3 separate regions of the Homo sapiens genome follow, and all the other regions are linked to region 2. Evidence: promoter capture Hi-C in 16 types of primary human blood cells and fetal thymus (Javierre and others, 2016). All regions are on one chromosome and are shown on one strand. The core of a region is centred on a gene start or on the middle of the fragment in contact, and the rest is flanking DNA. Distances in the headings are between cores, read along the strand shown.

Region 1 (4,510 bases), core at 534-3,033, 820 kb before region 2:
AGTCAGCCTTAGTTCTTTCAAGGATAAGTGGTCCACAAATATTAGCCATGAGCAATAGCACCTATGGCAGACATGAGCTCCAGATCGCCATCTTCTTAGCTTATAAGCTTCAGTTTTCTCATCTGTAAAATGAGATGATATTAGAATCTAATTGAAATGTTGTGAGGATTGGTTGAGACAGGACTGATTCAATTCTTATGTAGTGCCTAATATACATAGTGAAAATACAGCAAGTGAAAAATGTTTCATGCTGTTGTTGTCATTGTATTTCCTGTCACCCTCTGCCGTCATGTCTCTGGTTCTTAGACTTCTACGTTTTTGCTACCACTTTCTTTCACATTTTAGTGGAGAGGTTACAGAGTTCAAGACCTCGCAAGATTTAATTCACTGTCTACAACCACCATCTATAGACCACCAGCCTGACAAGCATACCAGCAGGGTTTTCAGTGAAGATCTACGATGCAGTAGTTACCATTGGTAAGGTCACTTTGCCATGTCCAAGTCGGCCTATAGCTTGCCATTCTCCCTCCAGAACATTCTTTTCCATGGCAATTCCAGCTCCTTCCTTGGCTATTTTCTAGTGCCTTCCAGTAATCCTATGGCAGTCTTTCATTTCCAACCAAACTGTAGTCCATCCAGAAGGACTGCCAGGATAGGCTTTGCCAAGCTGGAAGCTTGCTAGTAAGTAGTGCACTGGCCATAAAGATGTAAGAGGTTCAATCCAACTGGGATAAGTTGTTTGTTTCTTTTCTGGCACATCTATTTCCAGCCCTACATAATTTATGCTCACGCATGACTCCTGAGACACCTGTCCCTATGACCTCTTATTTTCATGCCCCCTCTGCCATACATACCCTGTTGTCTCAGGAAAAGAAGCTGAGCCCTTCCTCCCTTTTTACTCTCAGTTCTGTACACTTTATCGAATTCTGTGTTCCAAACTATTCAGGCAAGAGAATCCCCATCTTTTAGCCTCAATGATGTCTGAACTCCTACTGAGAGCCAGCCTCTGAGTCCACCTAGTGGGGGCAGAAGATCGGATACAAATCACCGTACATGGCTCTTTTCATGTCATATCTGAGCTTTCTACAGAAACTGATCAGATGAGATTATCTGAGCAATTCCTTTTATCCCTTCTTATTTTATATTAAGCTTTTAAAACTACTTTCCCTCCAGACAAGCATAGGCTTTCCTATTTGAGTGTAATGTAGCCCATAACTAGTAAATCAAAAGCATTCTCTGGTTCTTTCATTCATATAAGCCTACTGAGTGATGCCTTTACTGTAGCATTTCAAATCATGTTCTGGAAATCTACATTCACTTAACACTATATGGCCAGTATTTCATCTTTCAGAGTTACCTTTCCCCAAGAGTCCCATTGGCACTTATGTTTCCCATTCTATGGTTTTCCACCTGAGATTTTAGAACCTTTAAAATATGCTTTCTCTCATTTTAATTGATGGTATAATTTGGGACCACCAGAATCCCTAGCAGGGCTATGTGTCTGCAATGAAGTTTAATAAATATCTTCATCAGGTCTCAATAGCAAGACCAAAGAAGACAGCAGGACTAAATATATTCTCATATAATTATAGGGATAATCTAGAGGTAGGATTGAAAATATACATACACATATACATATAAAAACTATACTTTTAATCACAATGAGCCTGAGTTCCAAAGACAGATGAAAGAGTTAGGGTGGCAGGGAATATAAGAATAAGAATTTTGAAAAGATGACTAGATATTTTCCTTCAGATCCTCTAAATACCTCTTTTCTAGTTCTTATTTTGTATTCATAGGTGAAAATCCCATTTTTGGGAAGCAATGTGCCACAATCCTAGCAAAGTACCATATATATATATATATACATAGAGAGAGAGAGAGAGCGAGCAATAATTCATCAGGTATGTATTGAATAATCTGATTCTTTAGATTAACAAACAAAATTTTATTGTTATTGCTTAAAAATAGCAGAAAAATAGCTTCAGGCTTCTTAAAAGCATCAGAATTGTACCATAGAAAAGTCAGCATCTCTCTTCGTTACTGTCATCTCCCTCATCCTGCCTAGCTTCACAGACTATAATAAAGGAGAGACAAGGCATTTTGTAAATATCTTTGTGAGTCTGTGGACAGGTCTTTTAAAAAACTAAAAACAAATTCTCCTGGAATTACGGGTATGGAAATTGATTTGGCTGGGTGCTAAGATGAGGAAGTGGCCCTCAGATCATTGCGATAAAAATTACTATGGGATGACTGATCATTTACTGAGTGCATATATTTATTTGCATTAGTTAACTACTATTTGCATGCTTTTATTCTTCATTTCATTTATAATCTCCTAAAAGGCAGGAATGAGACCTTGTCTGTTTAGGGTCATATATAAAAGACCAACTCTATAAGACAAAGTGAAGGTTATGCGAAGCTTAGTCACTGTTTCTAAGTAAAACTCTCTTCAAGGCCTTGAGACATGACTTGCATAGTTTCCAAGAAAAAAAAATGTGAAGTAGGCAAATCGCACTGATTTTCACTTTGTGTTATTTGCCCTCTGAGTAACACCTTATCATCATCTTTCTCAGGGGCTCACAGTCCCCAGGTATTTAAATGTCCTCATCAACATCTATTATTTAAAACTTCATTTGCAAAAACAGAAGAATAAAATATTAACCCTTCTGGGGCAGCTTCCCTTTCATCATGGATCAGGGACTTCAGCTAAGGAACAAAGCCCTAACTAACAAATTTCAGGTGTCAACGTATAGGGGAGGTATAATTTTAGGCAACATCCAATAAGAGTCTTCTATGTACATCCAATACCACATCTCGAAGCCTATCGCATGCTATGCTATGTTAGCTTTTTGGCTTCAGAAAGAGAGATAAAGGGGGACGCCGCCCCGCCCTGTAACTATGGTGGGGGCTCCAGCAGTAAACTGTAGATTGTCAGATCACAGCTCTGTGATGTTCATGCTCTGTGACCATAAGCAAGTCACTTACTGTCCTGTGGCTCAGATCCCCCATCCAGTAAAATAAATAATACAATCTCATAGAAATGATGAGAAGATTAAGTATAAGACTTTGAGAGAAGTTCCCAGCATTGAGTAGTAAGCCTTCAATAAATGCTAGCAATTATCACTACACAAGAGTCAGGAGTTTCCCATAAAATAATTGAAGTCAAGGTCTGGAGAGTCACCACAAAGCAGCTTTCTGCTAATATTAAAATTCTGCATTTGTGCTAACACCAACAGTTTGAGTAGGTAAGACAGAGGACTTAGAGATGAATGTTATTTCAATTAACATCTTGGGCTGGGTGCAGTAGCTCATGCCTGTAATCCCAGCACTTTGGGAGGCCAAGGTGGGTGAATCACCTGAGGTCAGGAGTTTGAGACCTGCCTGGCCAACATGGTGAAACCCCGTCACGCCTGTCATCCTAGCTACCCAGGAGGCTGAGGCAGGAAAATCACTTGAACCTGGGAGGTGGAGGTTGTAGTGAGCCAAGATTGCACCATTGCACTCCAGCCTGGGCAACAAGAGCGAAATTCCATCTCAAAAAATAAACTAACCAACCAAACAAACAAAAAACCCCAACAATTTACATCCTGTGGGGGTGGCAAAGTGGCAGCAGAACTCACCTTTAGTAATAAGAGAGGTAGACCCTGTCTCATTCTCCCCAGGAAGCAATGTGGTCCTTGCCTACTAAGAATAATTACTTTCTTTCTTTCCTTCCCCTGGCCCCAACCCCCACCCCTTTCTTTAAAGATATGAGAATGTAAGAATTCTCCACCTATATTAGACCCATGCTTGGCTCCTAAGACCACGCCAGTTTTGATAGTGAAAGTCAAAGACACAACCATAATTGTCCTCCTCAACTTAGCATCAAATATAATGGCTGTTTACCCAACACTATAAATTATTGGCTTACACAACACAATATATTATTGGCTTTTATACAATTATTTATACGTTTTAAAATAAACATCAGGAACAAGTGAGTGTGGAATCTGTAACAATCCCCATTTAATTGGGAAAATCTTTCTTGCTAAGAGAGGGTTAAGAAAAGGCACTTTTAACAAATTCTTCTCCTTGAACGCCCTTTTCTCTCCCTGCTCTCTGTTCCACAGCTGGCTGAGGACTGCAAGCACAAGGCAGGCAGAACTTCAGGGTTGCTGGGCAGCTTTACAAGTTGGCAGCTCTCTTAAGCACATGCGCAACGATCAGGACAATAAAATATTGTTCATTGCTTCTACCCCACAACCAATTAGGTCAGCTGTAAATATTGGAATTGCTTGGTAAACATGCTGGAAGATTGTGCTGACTTGTTAATATAAGTGAAAATGTAATTAGATTTATAACACTTTTTTTCCAAGTCATAATTTACAACAACAACAACAGGAGAAAAAAAATCTCTTGCAACCTGCTGAAATATCATTATTAAAATGCACATGAAAAGTCAATTATGCCAGAGGGAGGTATTTAAGAGAAGTGAGTTTCCATACCGTGGGATTACACCGTGGGGATT
Region 2 (4,521 bases), core at 1,540-4,039:
GCCACTTTTTTGCAGAGGGAGAACCTGTGTCATATGTCCTGAACAGGGATGTCTTACTCGGGCCTTCCAACCACATCGCCCTCCATAAACACAGCCCATCTGAATACAGAGCCACATTCCCTCCCAGGTGACAAGCCATTCCTCTGAAAACTACACTTGCCTTCAGGCCCCGAGGGCCCCATTTAGTGCTCTGTATAGGTTAGCATTTTAGCTAAGTGAATGGTGAATCCCAATTGTAATAATCATCTAGCAGTGTTTTAATTAGGCCTCTGGCCTGGCTATGCATGGTTTTTCATTTTCCCTCCTAAGACGTTTGGATGGATCCAGCCAAAGAAACCCTGCTGCCCTGACCAGCAGCTCAAAGTGTGTCCCTCCCGCCTTGCATGCTTTCAGAGGTGTGTCCTACCACTTCCCAGGAGGTGGGAGCAGGCCAATCTGTGTGCCCGTCAGTAATTACCACTGGGAGCTCAGGGAGTGAGGTGTTTTTAACAGGACAGTATAGTATTACCTAGGCAAATCCCCCATCACATCCTGCCAGTCTGTCCTTACCTCCTCTTCTCTCCCTTCCTTTCCTTCATTCACTACCTTTTTCCTTCTCTTTTCCTCTCCAAACAGAGAGTGAATATTCTATTGTCCTCTCTCTTCTCCCCTCTCTCCTTTCAGCTGCCTCCTGCTCTGTTTTCCAAATTCCTAAATACCTCTTCCCTCTCCCCTCCCCTTTTCCTCCTGACTTATTTCCCATTAATCATTTCTAACACACATCTGCTCAGGCCCTAGAAGGATCCCTTGGCTCCCTCTCACAGCTGGGCTGGTTACAATAATCAGGGAGACTTTCATCTTTCATAGCCTCCTAGGTCTCCCCTCTGCCCAGCTCCTCCTCCTCTGCGTTCCTGCAAAGGCCAGCCTCTCTGCACCCTGGCTTCCTTCTGCCCTTCCCGCTCTACACAGCAGTCTCCCGAAGGCAAAATGGCTTGTGGGTGGACACAGCCCTGCAGTGGACTTTTACAGGTGGTGTTTGCAGTGATGGCAATGGCTGCCCGCACAGAAGTCGGCATGAGAAGCCTGCCACGATGAAATAAATGAGATCACTCCCTCCCTTTTCATTCCCGCACCCCTCTTGCTGCAATGTGGGATCCATCTCACAGTCAGGGTACCCCTTTCCATTCGGCGTAACATGATTTTACCAAGATTAAAATTGGGGAACATGTAATTACAGCTTGTGTAATTTCTAAGCATTCTATAAGTGCTGCCCAAAATACAGTATGGATCCAGGGAGTGCACTTAGTTTTGGGTATGACTGATACTGCCTGGAAGTGGGGTCTGCTGTCTTCTACTACTGGGCAAGATACAGATTCGTGATAGCTATTTCTTTCTGTTTGAAGAGCTCCTTTGAAATCACCTCTCCCCATCTTGGGTTCTCAGGTCATCTCAAGGCGTCGGTCAGCGCGGCAGAGTCGGGAACCTGCCATCCTAGAGCAATACGCCCCGAGTGACAGCCCTGACAACCGGAGTGATGGATCGGGACTGGAAAAGTGGTGCTGGGAGCCAGGCAGTGACACCAGCGCGCCTCCACTGGCCGCCGAGCGCACGGAGAAGTGGGCTCCCCAGAGTTCGGCACCCAAAGGACCAACTTCGCCTCCGGAAAAGCGGCGGATCCGGAACTTGGATGTCAGGACTATGACTACGTAAAATCTCTGCCCAGGGCGAAGCTAGCAATGCACACTGTATCAGAAAGGCGCAGGGAGTCGGGAAGGGTATTGTTATTTTTAATTAAAAGTTTTTATCCCGAAATTTGCCTGGGGAAAGCAAGTGCTTTTTCCCCCGGAGTGAGAAGGATGGGGGGGCGGAGGGGTTGTGTTGCCGAGCAGCGCTTAGAGAGAGATCCCCCTCCAGGGACACCCGCCTCGCCCGTGATCTCGGTCTCTCCTCGTAGCAGCTGGGCGCGGTACAGTGAGGAACTTCACGCCCCTCAGCAGGACACGGTAAGAAGCCTGTAACACACCAGACACCGAGCCTCTAACGCAGGGCGCAGGCACAGCGCGCACAGCCTGGGGTCCCGCGCTTGGTCGCCGACCATGTCACTCCAGAAGGGAGACAAACTTGCAGGCTTCAGACAAGACGGGCTCAAAGTAGTTGGAGCTGCCTACGCCGCGTCCCGAGAACAGTGGGTGCCTCCGAGGCTCGGGCGCTTCCAAGTGAACACACCAAGGGGAGGCCAAGTAGGGGAAGGAGAGCGGGGCCGAGGAGAGCCGGAGCAGCTCTGGAGAAGGACCCGGGCTCCCGAGGCGAGGCCTGCCCCCAGGCGGCCTCTGGGAGAGGCTTGAACTCCAGCGTCCCAGAGCCCGCGCCGTGCGATCCCTCCCACCCCACCCCACCCCACCCCACCCCACCTCGGACACACACGGCGGGCGGGGTTACAGCCCCCGCCAGCATCACCCCCCACCCACCCAGTGGTGAGAAGGGAGAGAGGAGAGAGAGCGGCCGGAAAGGAGGACGGGGCGCAGAGCTCAGGGTCCCGGAGAAGTCCCGTCCCAGGCGGGGGACCCCAGGGCGAGGAAGGCCCAGTCGGGGGGAGGGGAGGAATCCCGGGAGCGGCCGAGACCGAGGCAGCGGCGGCGCGCGGCGCGGCCCCTTTAAGGCTCTCCCCGCCCACCGATGGAGCCGGCCTCAGCCCGCCGCTCTCCCCGCCCCGGGGTCCCGGCGAGAGCTGCGATTGGGCGGGCGCGGCGATCCCTTTGAAGTGTGGCTGCCGATCGCGGCTATTTGACGTGCGGCTCGAGGAAGGCGAAGGTTTTTGTGTTGCTAGCCGGGGCCAGCGGCGGTGGCGGCGGCGGCGGAGGCGTCGGTGGAGGAGGGGAGGCGGCGAGGAGGCGCAGCTCCCGCTGCACCGCGATCGACGCTGCGGAGCGAGCCCACCCGCCCCGGGAGCTCGCCTCCCCGGTGCTCCCCCGCCCTCCCCGCCCCCCCAGCGGCGCTGCCTCCTCCAAATGAGCGATTCGCCCGCTGGATCTAACCCAAGGACACCCGAAAGCAGCGGCAGCGGCAGCGGCGGCGGCGGGAAGAGGCCGGCGGTGCCGGCAGCGGTGTCCCTCTTGCCACCGGCGGACCCCCTGCGCCAGGCGAACCGGCTCCCGATCAGGGTCCTGAAGATGCTGAGCGCTCACACCGGTCACCTCCTGCACCCGGAGTACCTGCAGCCGCTGTCCTCCACTCCCGTCAGCCCCATTGAGGTCAGTCCCCGGCCGCTGCCCCCGGGCGCCGGCCCCATTCCTCCCACCGCGACCGGGACCCTGACCCAGCTCCCAGCGCCCCGGGGCTCGGTGCGACACCCAAGTCTGGTCACGCTGGCGGGCTGAGTGAGGAGGGGAAGAAAACCGAGGGATCAGAGCCCACCAGGGCTTCCCCAGGCTTCCCCGTGGAAGGGTCTCCTTCCACGCTCGCCCTTCGGAGCTCCGTGTTTTCTCTCGGATTGGATTTGCTCCTGGAGTCCCCTCTGGGTCCTTTACTTTTCCTCTGATCCCCAGTTTCCAGCCAGGAGTTGGTCTCTGCTGGGTCTTCCCCGCCCCCCACGCCGGGCTGTTTTCTTTGAAGCCCTGGCTGCCCGGGTCCCACTTCGCCTCTGTCCCATCCGGTGAGGGCGCACGGCGCCCTGGCGCTCCCGATCCCGGATCTTTCTTCCTGCCTCTTCCCTGGGTGCCCTCCCCGGGAGGGAGGGGCTACGGAGAGAGCGCCAACTGCAGCCCCTCCTTTAGAATCCGCGCTCCCCTCTCCTACCCCGCGGCGCCATCGCCAGAAACCCGTCCCAAGCGAAGTTCCCCCAAACTAAAGGAATAAGTTTTTTCCTGGGCCTGGAGGAGGGGGACATTAGAGGGAAGTGGCGAGTCACAGCCCCGACTCCAGAGACGTCACCTTCTCCCGCAGGGGTCCTGGGTGAACTCCTTCCGCAGGGCCTGCGGCGCACCCCGGGACCCAGCGGCAGTGTGGGCGCAGTTCCGCCAGCTGCCGCGCCCGGCCCGGCCCTCGCTCGCAGACCCTCTCCCCAGGCCCGCCCCGCCCCGTGGCGCCGCCGCCCAGCTCCCCGGGCGCCCCCGCTCGCCCCGCAGGCCTCTGAGTCTCACTCCTTCTCCCTCCCCCTGCTTCTGTCTCCCACAGCTGGACGCCAAGAAGAGCCCCTTGGCGCTGCTGGCTCAGACCTGCTCGCAGATCGGCAAGCCGGACCCGCCGCCCTCCTCCAAACTCAACTCGGTGGCGGCGGCGGCCAACGGGCTGGGAGCGGAGAAGGACCCCGGCCGCTCAGCCCCGGGCGCCGCCTCCGCAGCCGCGGCCCTGAAGCAGCTGGGGGACTCACCGGCCGAGGACAAGTCCAGCTTCAAGCCCTACTCCAAGGGCTCCGGCGGCGGCGACTCCCGCAAAGACAGCGGCTCCTCCTCGGTGTCTTCCACCTCCTCCTCGTCCTCCTCGTCCCCGGGAGACAAGGCGGGCTTCAGGGTCCCCAGCGCCGCCTGCCCGCCCTTTCCCCCG
Region 3 (4,379 bases), core at 766-3,265, 560 kb before region 2:
AAATATCAGCAGGCATCAGGGAAAGACCTTTCCAATTTACTGAGATCGAAGGAAGTAACTGCAGGGTTCCCCTCTCTCGCCTCCCTTTTTCTCCAACTCCAGCCAAAAAATGTCTTGTTTTCTTTCCCAAAGATTATCCCATCGCCCACCCCTGCCTGCTCAGGGGGAGTCTCTGGATGGTCCTTGGGCACATGGTGCTGCACGTGATGTACTAGTTGTATTCTGGGTCACCCAGCCCCTTCAACTCACCACTTAATAGGAATAAAGAGAAGAGCAGGCGAAAATGGACCTCCCACTTCTCTCAGATGCTGCACCAAGAGAATGCAAAGAGAAACAGCTCTGGGTGCTTTGTTGCTGTTGCTCTAGTTATTTTAATCTCTTCATGCTGCACAGCACCCATCAGGGACCAAGTTGCAGGCAGGTTTTAACATCAAAGGCAGTGATGAATGTAATGTACCCTTCTGGGCAGGGCAGGAGCCCTTGCTGGGCAGTGGGTTGGGTTGGGGGAAAGGAGGGTGCAGGGGTGAGGCAGGTAAGTGAGGGAAGCATGCACCAGTGATTAAATGTGGGAGCAAGAGCATTAAAAAATGTCAGTCCCAGGCTCCCTTCTGTGTATCTCACAGCCTGACCATTACATCTCAGTTGCATATTGAATGTGACCCTTACATTCACAATGCTTCCCTGATATTTTTCACTGTAGACTTAGACAACCATCGTGTCAATGTACTAGTTTAAAAGTTTAATATTGACTATGCTGCTTTTAGAAAATAGACTCAGGGTCAGAACAGCCCCATTTCTCTATTCTCTTCCCTCTCTATACCCCAAATAAGAGCAGATCAATGGCAGAGATGAAATAGATTGCATATTGACATTCCTGGGGATAATTTCTCCATATACAAATATGTCAATTTATCTCATGTATTTATTTTTTAATTTACTTACATGTAGATTTATATGAAGGATATACTTAAGCCTCCAATTACCCATGTCAACATTATAGCTCTCCATCGCCCTGAGAGGAATGCACTGGGAAAAAGGTTCACTATTTTGAAAATCCCATTAATAACACAGGCCCCATTTGGGTGTTATTTGCAATGAGAGTCTCATTGAAAAAAGAACCTCCAACCAATTATCTTTGGACTTTATAGAACTTTGGACTTCCTAGAACCTATGAAGTTCATAAAAACTAATTGTAATTATTCCTGAGTCCAAAACAATGGAAAGAAATACTTGGAGTAGGATTTTACAAGTTTATCTACTTAAAACAAAACAAAACAAAACAAAAATGGAGCACTGGGAAAATGTTAGCCAATTACAGTATGCATTTGTGTATTCATACCCATAAATATCCACCAGCAGAGGACGTCACAGGTCTAGCCCTCTGCCATGAATGTCTAAGTTCCTACCACGCATCTCAGGCCCATACACTGGAGAGAAGGGGAGGGGGAAACCAAGCCAAGCCCAGCAACGGAAGACACAGCACACTCTCATCCCAGCCTTCATAGACCCCTTTCTTACAGTACATCAGAAGTCACTAGTAAAATTAAAATTCTTTCTCAACAAGATATGCTATATTCTCACCTTCAGTTGGATATTCAGAGTGAAAACTAGAATAACAATTCACCATTGCCCTGGCCCAAAGCACATCCAATCTTTTTCCCCCAACTCCCATATCATTTTGGCAAAGTATCATAAAACTGCTACCAAAGCCGAATCTATTTCTATAGCTAGCTATCCATCTACATATCTTCATTGCCTACAAAATAGTAAATATAAATGCTTTTGCATTTTTATTTGTTCTAAACCTACCCTCTTTTTTTTGTTTGTTTGTTTTTTTTGTTTGAGACAGAGTCTCGCTCTGTCGCCCAGGCTGGAGTCTCACTCTGTCGCCCAGGCTGCAGTGCAGTGGCGCAATCTTGGCTCATTGCAAGCTCTGCCTCCCAGGTTCACGTCATTCTCCTGCCTCAGCCTCCCGAGTAGCTGGGACTACAGACGCCCGCCACCAAGCCCATTTTGTATTCTACTAAAAATACGGGGTTTCACAGTGTCAGCCAGGATGGTCTCGATCTCCTGACCTCGTGATCCACCTGCCTCGGCCTCCCAAAGTGCTGGGATTACAGGCATGAGCCACCGCGCCCGGCCAATCCTACCCTCTTTTTAAGGTCCAGCTCTCTCATTTTGGAAATAACTTCTTCCTCTGAACAAGTGCAGTGCTCACTGTTTATATCTCTAATTATTCTTATCTCTTTCCATCTCATGATACATTCACTTATATTCATGTCTCATTTCTCAAAGGGAAAATATTCCATTTCTTGAGTATAAAATCCATAGCTGTTCCTTCTCTGTACTTCTACAACACCTACTTTTCTTTAACATTTAGAAGGCCCCCAATAAATGTTGTTTGTATCAGTGAACAAATAAATAACTTTTAATTATGCTAAATAAATGCAAGGTATCATTTATAATATAGAAAAATGCATGTTCTATCCACGCAGGTGGATGTAAAATGACAACGTGACTCTAAAAAATAGAAAAAACTTGGCCTGGGCATGCACGGAAAAACAAATATAAGGGGCTCAACAGGAACAAACTGCAAAATCCCAAGCTCTCTTCTATCTGCAGCTGTCCCTTCTCTTGAAATTACTTCTTGCCACAGTGATATAGGACTCGCACTGCTCATTGGGATACACAATCCATCTTCAGGAGCCCATAGTCACAGGAAGAAGAGAAGAGGAAAAAAATTCCTAAGCACATTTCACCCATTGGTTTTGATCCTCAGCCAAGGCCGTCCACCTGCAAAAATTCCCCAACTATCACATTTCTACTGCTTTGGCTGATAACGAAGATAATTGTTTCATCCACTTTGTCAAAGCTGAAATGAAAAGAGGGCAAAGCAAAATGATGCCATCACAAATCACCAGGCTGAGACAGCAAAAGAGGGACAAGATAGCAACTTCATTAAGGGTTATGTATTGTGCCATTAAGTTGGCAGGGGGGTCACCTTTTCTGTCACACCCGGCCTCTGTGATGCATTGCCAGCTCTTCTTTCCAATAAAATTAAACGGAGATGTAAAACTGATTAGGGCCATGTTTGCTTCAGCCTGTGGCAAAGGGAATGGTACAGGGAATAATTGATATAAGATTGCAACTGATGCATAATGACAGCAATTTCTCTTCCTGGTCATTTCATTGCTGACCTTGCCCATTAAAATAAGCTCAGCTGCCTTGGAGAAAGAGACACTTCATTTCCCATCATCCTGTGGCCCCATGGCATCTCCCATTTCCCCCAATCACCAGCCTTCACCAAAACAACATAGCTAGAAATGCTGCAAGCTAGAGATTTGGAGAAGCAGCTGGTTCACATGGATATGCATTGCAGATCCTTCATGCCACTGATAGCATGAACTCCTTGACTCCCCAAATGGTGGCTTCAGACAATTCTATGCTTCACTAGTTTTTAAATCCTGCCATGCTGAACATCAGGTTATTGGCCCGTTTGGTCTGAGCCTCAGACTCACCACATGAGGACCTGTCTGTGTATTCTGTCATTGCTGAGGTATGGAAGCTACTGTAAGCATAGAAATGACTGACTTTATCCTCACAATAACAAATCATGTCTTCTAATGCTTTATGAACTCAACAATTTAGACAGTCTCCATCCAAAGCGTACCCATTATTCAATCAACAAATATTCATTAGAGGTCTATTAGGTACCAAGCACTGTGCTAAACATTGACAATAGACAGTTATGTCCCTGCCTTCATGGGGCTCACAGTTGAGTGGCATTTTCCACTGGAATAATATGGATGGCTCATGTGTGTTGAATGTTTATTATGTGCAAAGCACTATTCTATGCAATTTACATACATTAACTCATGTAATCTTCATAGTACCAATAAAGTATTATTATTATCCCCATTTTACAGATAAGAAAACAGAGAAGGAAGAGGCTAAGTACCCTGCCCTGGAAAATGGGGAGTAAGGAGAAGAACCAGTATTTCTTTTCTTTTCTTTTCTTTTCTTTTTTTTTTTTTGATATGGATTCTTGCTCTGTCACCAAGGCTGGAATGCGGTGGTACAATCTTGGCTCACTGCAACCTCTGCTTCCTGGGTTCAAGCCATTCTCCAGCCTCAGCCTCCCAAGTAGCTGGAATTACAGGTGACCAAAACCACACCTGGCTAATTTTTGTATTTTTTTGTAGAGATAGGGTTTCACCATGTTGGCCAAGCTGGTCTCAAAATCCTGACCTCAGGTGATCTGCCTGCCTCGATATCCCAAAATGCTGGGATTACAGGCATGAGCCACTGTGTTGGGCCAAGAACCATTATTTCAGATGCCATGAGCTGAAGCCAGGAACTAAACGTGAAAAAAAATATTT

What was found. Contacts are between HindIII fragments. The CHiCAGO score rates a contact against its expected background, and 5 or more counts as called.
Region 1: a fragment that was not itself captured here is called in contact with the fragment with the promoter of ZNF703 in region 2 in 11 of 17 cell types (megakaryocytes, naive CD4 T cells, naive CD8 T cells and 8 more); the score reaches 9.4 in megakaryocytes.
Region 3: a contact is called between a fragment that was not itself captured here and the fragment with the promoter of ZNF703 in region 2, in 1 of 17 cell types (endothelial precursors). The highest score is 5.0, in endothelial precursors.

Annotation. Positions count from the first base shown.
Region 1 is chr8:36,869,541-36,874,050 of GRCh38, forward strand. All of the region lies in intron 19 of KCNU1 (potassium calcium-activated channel subfamily U member 1), which reads left to right. Among named protein-coding and RNA genes, the nearest start is that of KCNU1, 87 kb to the left of the region's middle. The HindIII fragment of the contact is 1,273 bases long and covers 1,148-2,420 here.
Region 2 is chr8:37,692,993-37,697,513 of GRCh38, forward strand. It overlaps ZNF703 (zinc finger protein 703), which reads left to right and starts at 2,790. Exons shown (of 2, transcript NM_025069.3): 1 at 2,790-3,230; 2 at 4,153-4,521. The coding sequence starts at 2,988. It overlaps LOC124901932 (a long non-coding RNA gene), which reads left to right and starts at 938. Exons shown (of 2, transcript XR_007060887.1): 1 at 938-1,008; 2 at 1,423-1,791. LOC124901933 (a long non-coding RNA gene) reads right to left here and starts at 2,689. Exons shown (of 2, transcript XR_007060888.1): 1 at 2,448-2,689; 2 at 1,753-1,991. RefSeq lists silencers at 1,429-1,613, 2,401-2,750, 2,801-2,900 and enhancers at 2,635-3,178, 3,179-3,721. The HindIII fragment of the contact is 16,475 bases long and covers 1-4,521 here.
Region 3 is chr8:37,137,674-37,142,052 of GRCh38, forward strand. No RefSeq gene overlaps it. Among named protein-coding and RNA genes, the nearest start is that of KCNU1, 360 kb to the left of the region's middle. The HindIII fragment of the contact is 5,325 bases long and covers 1-4,379 here.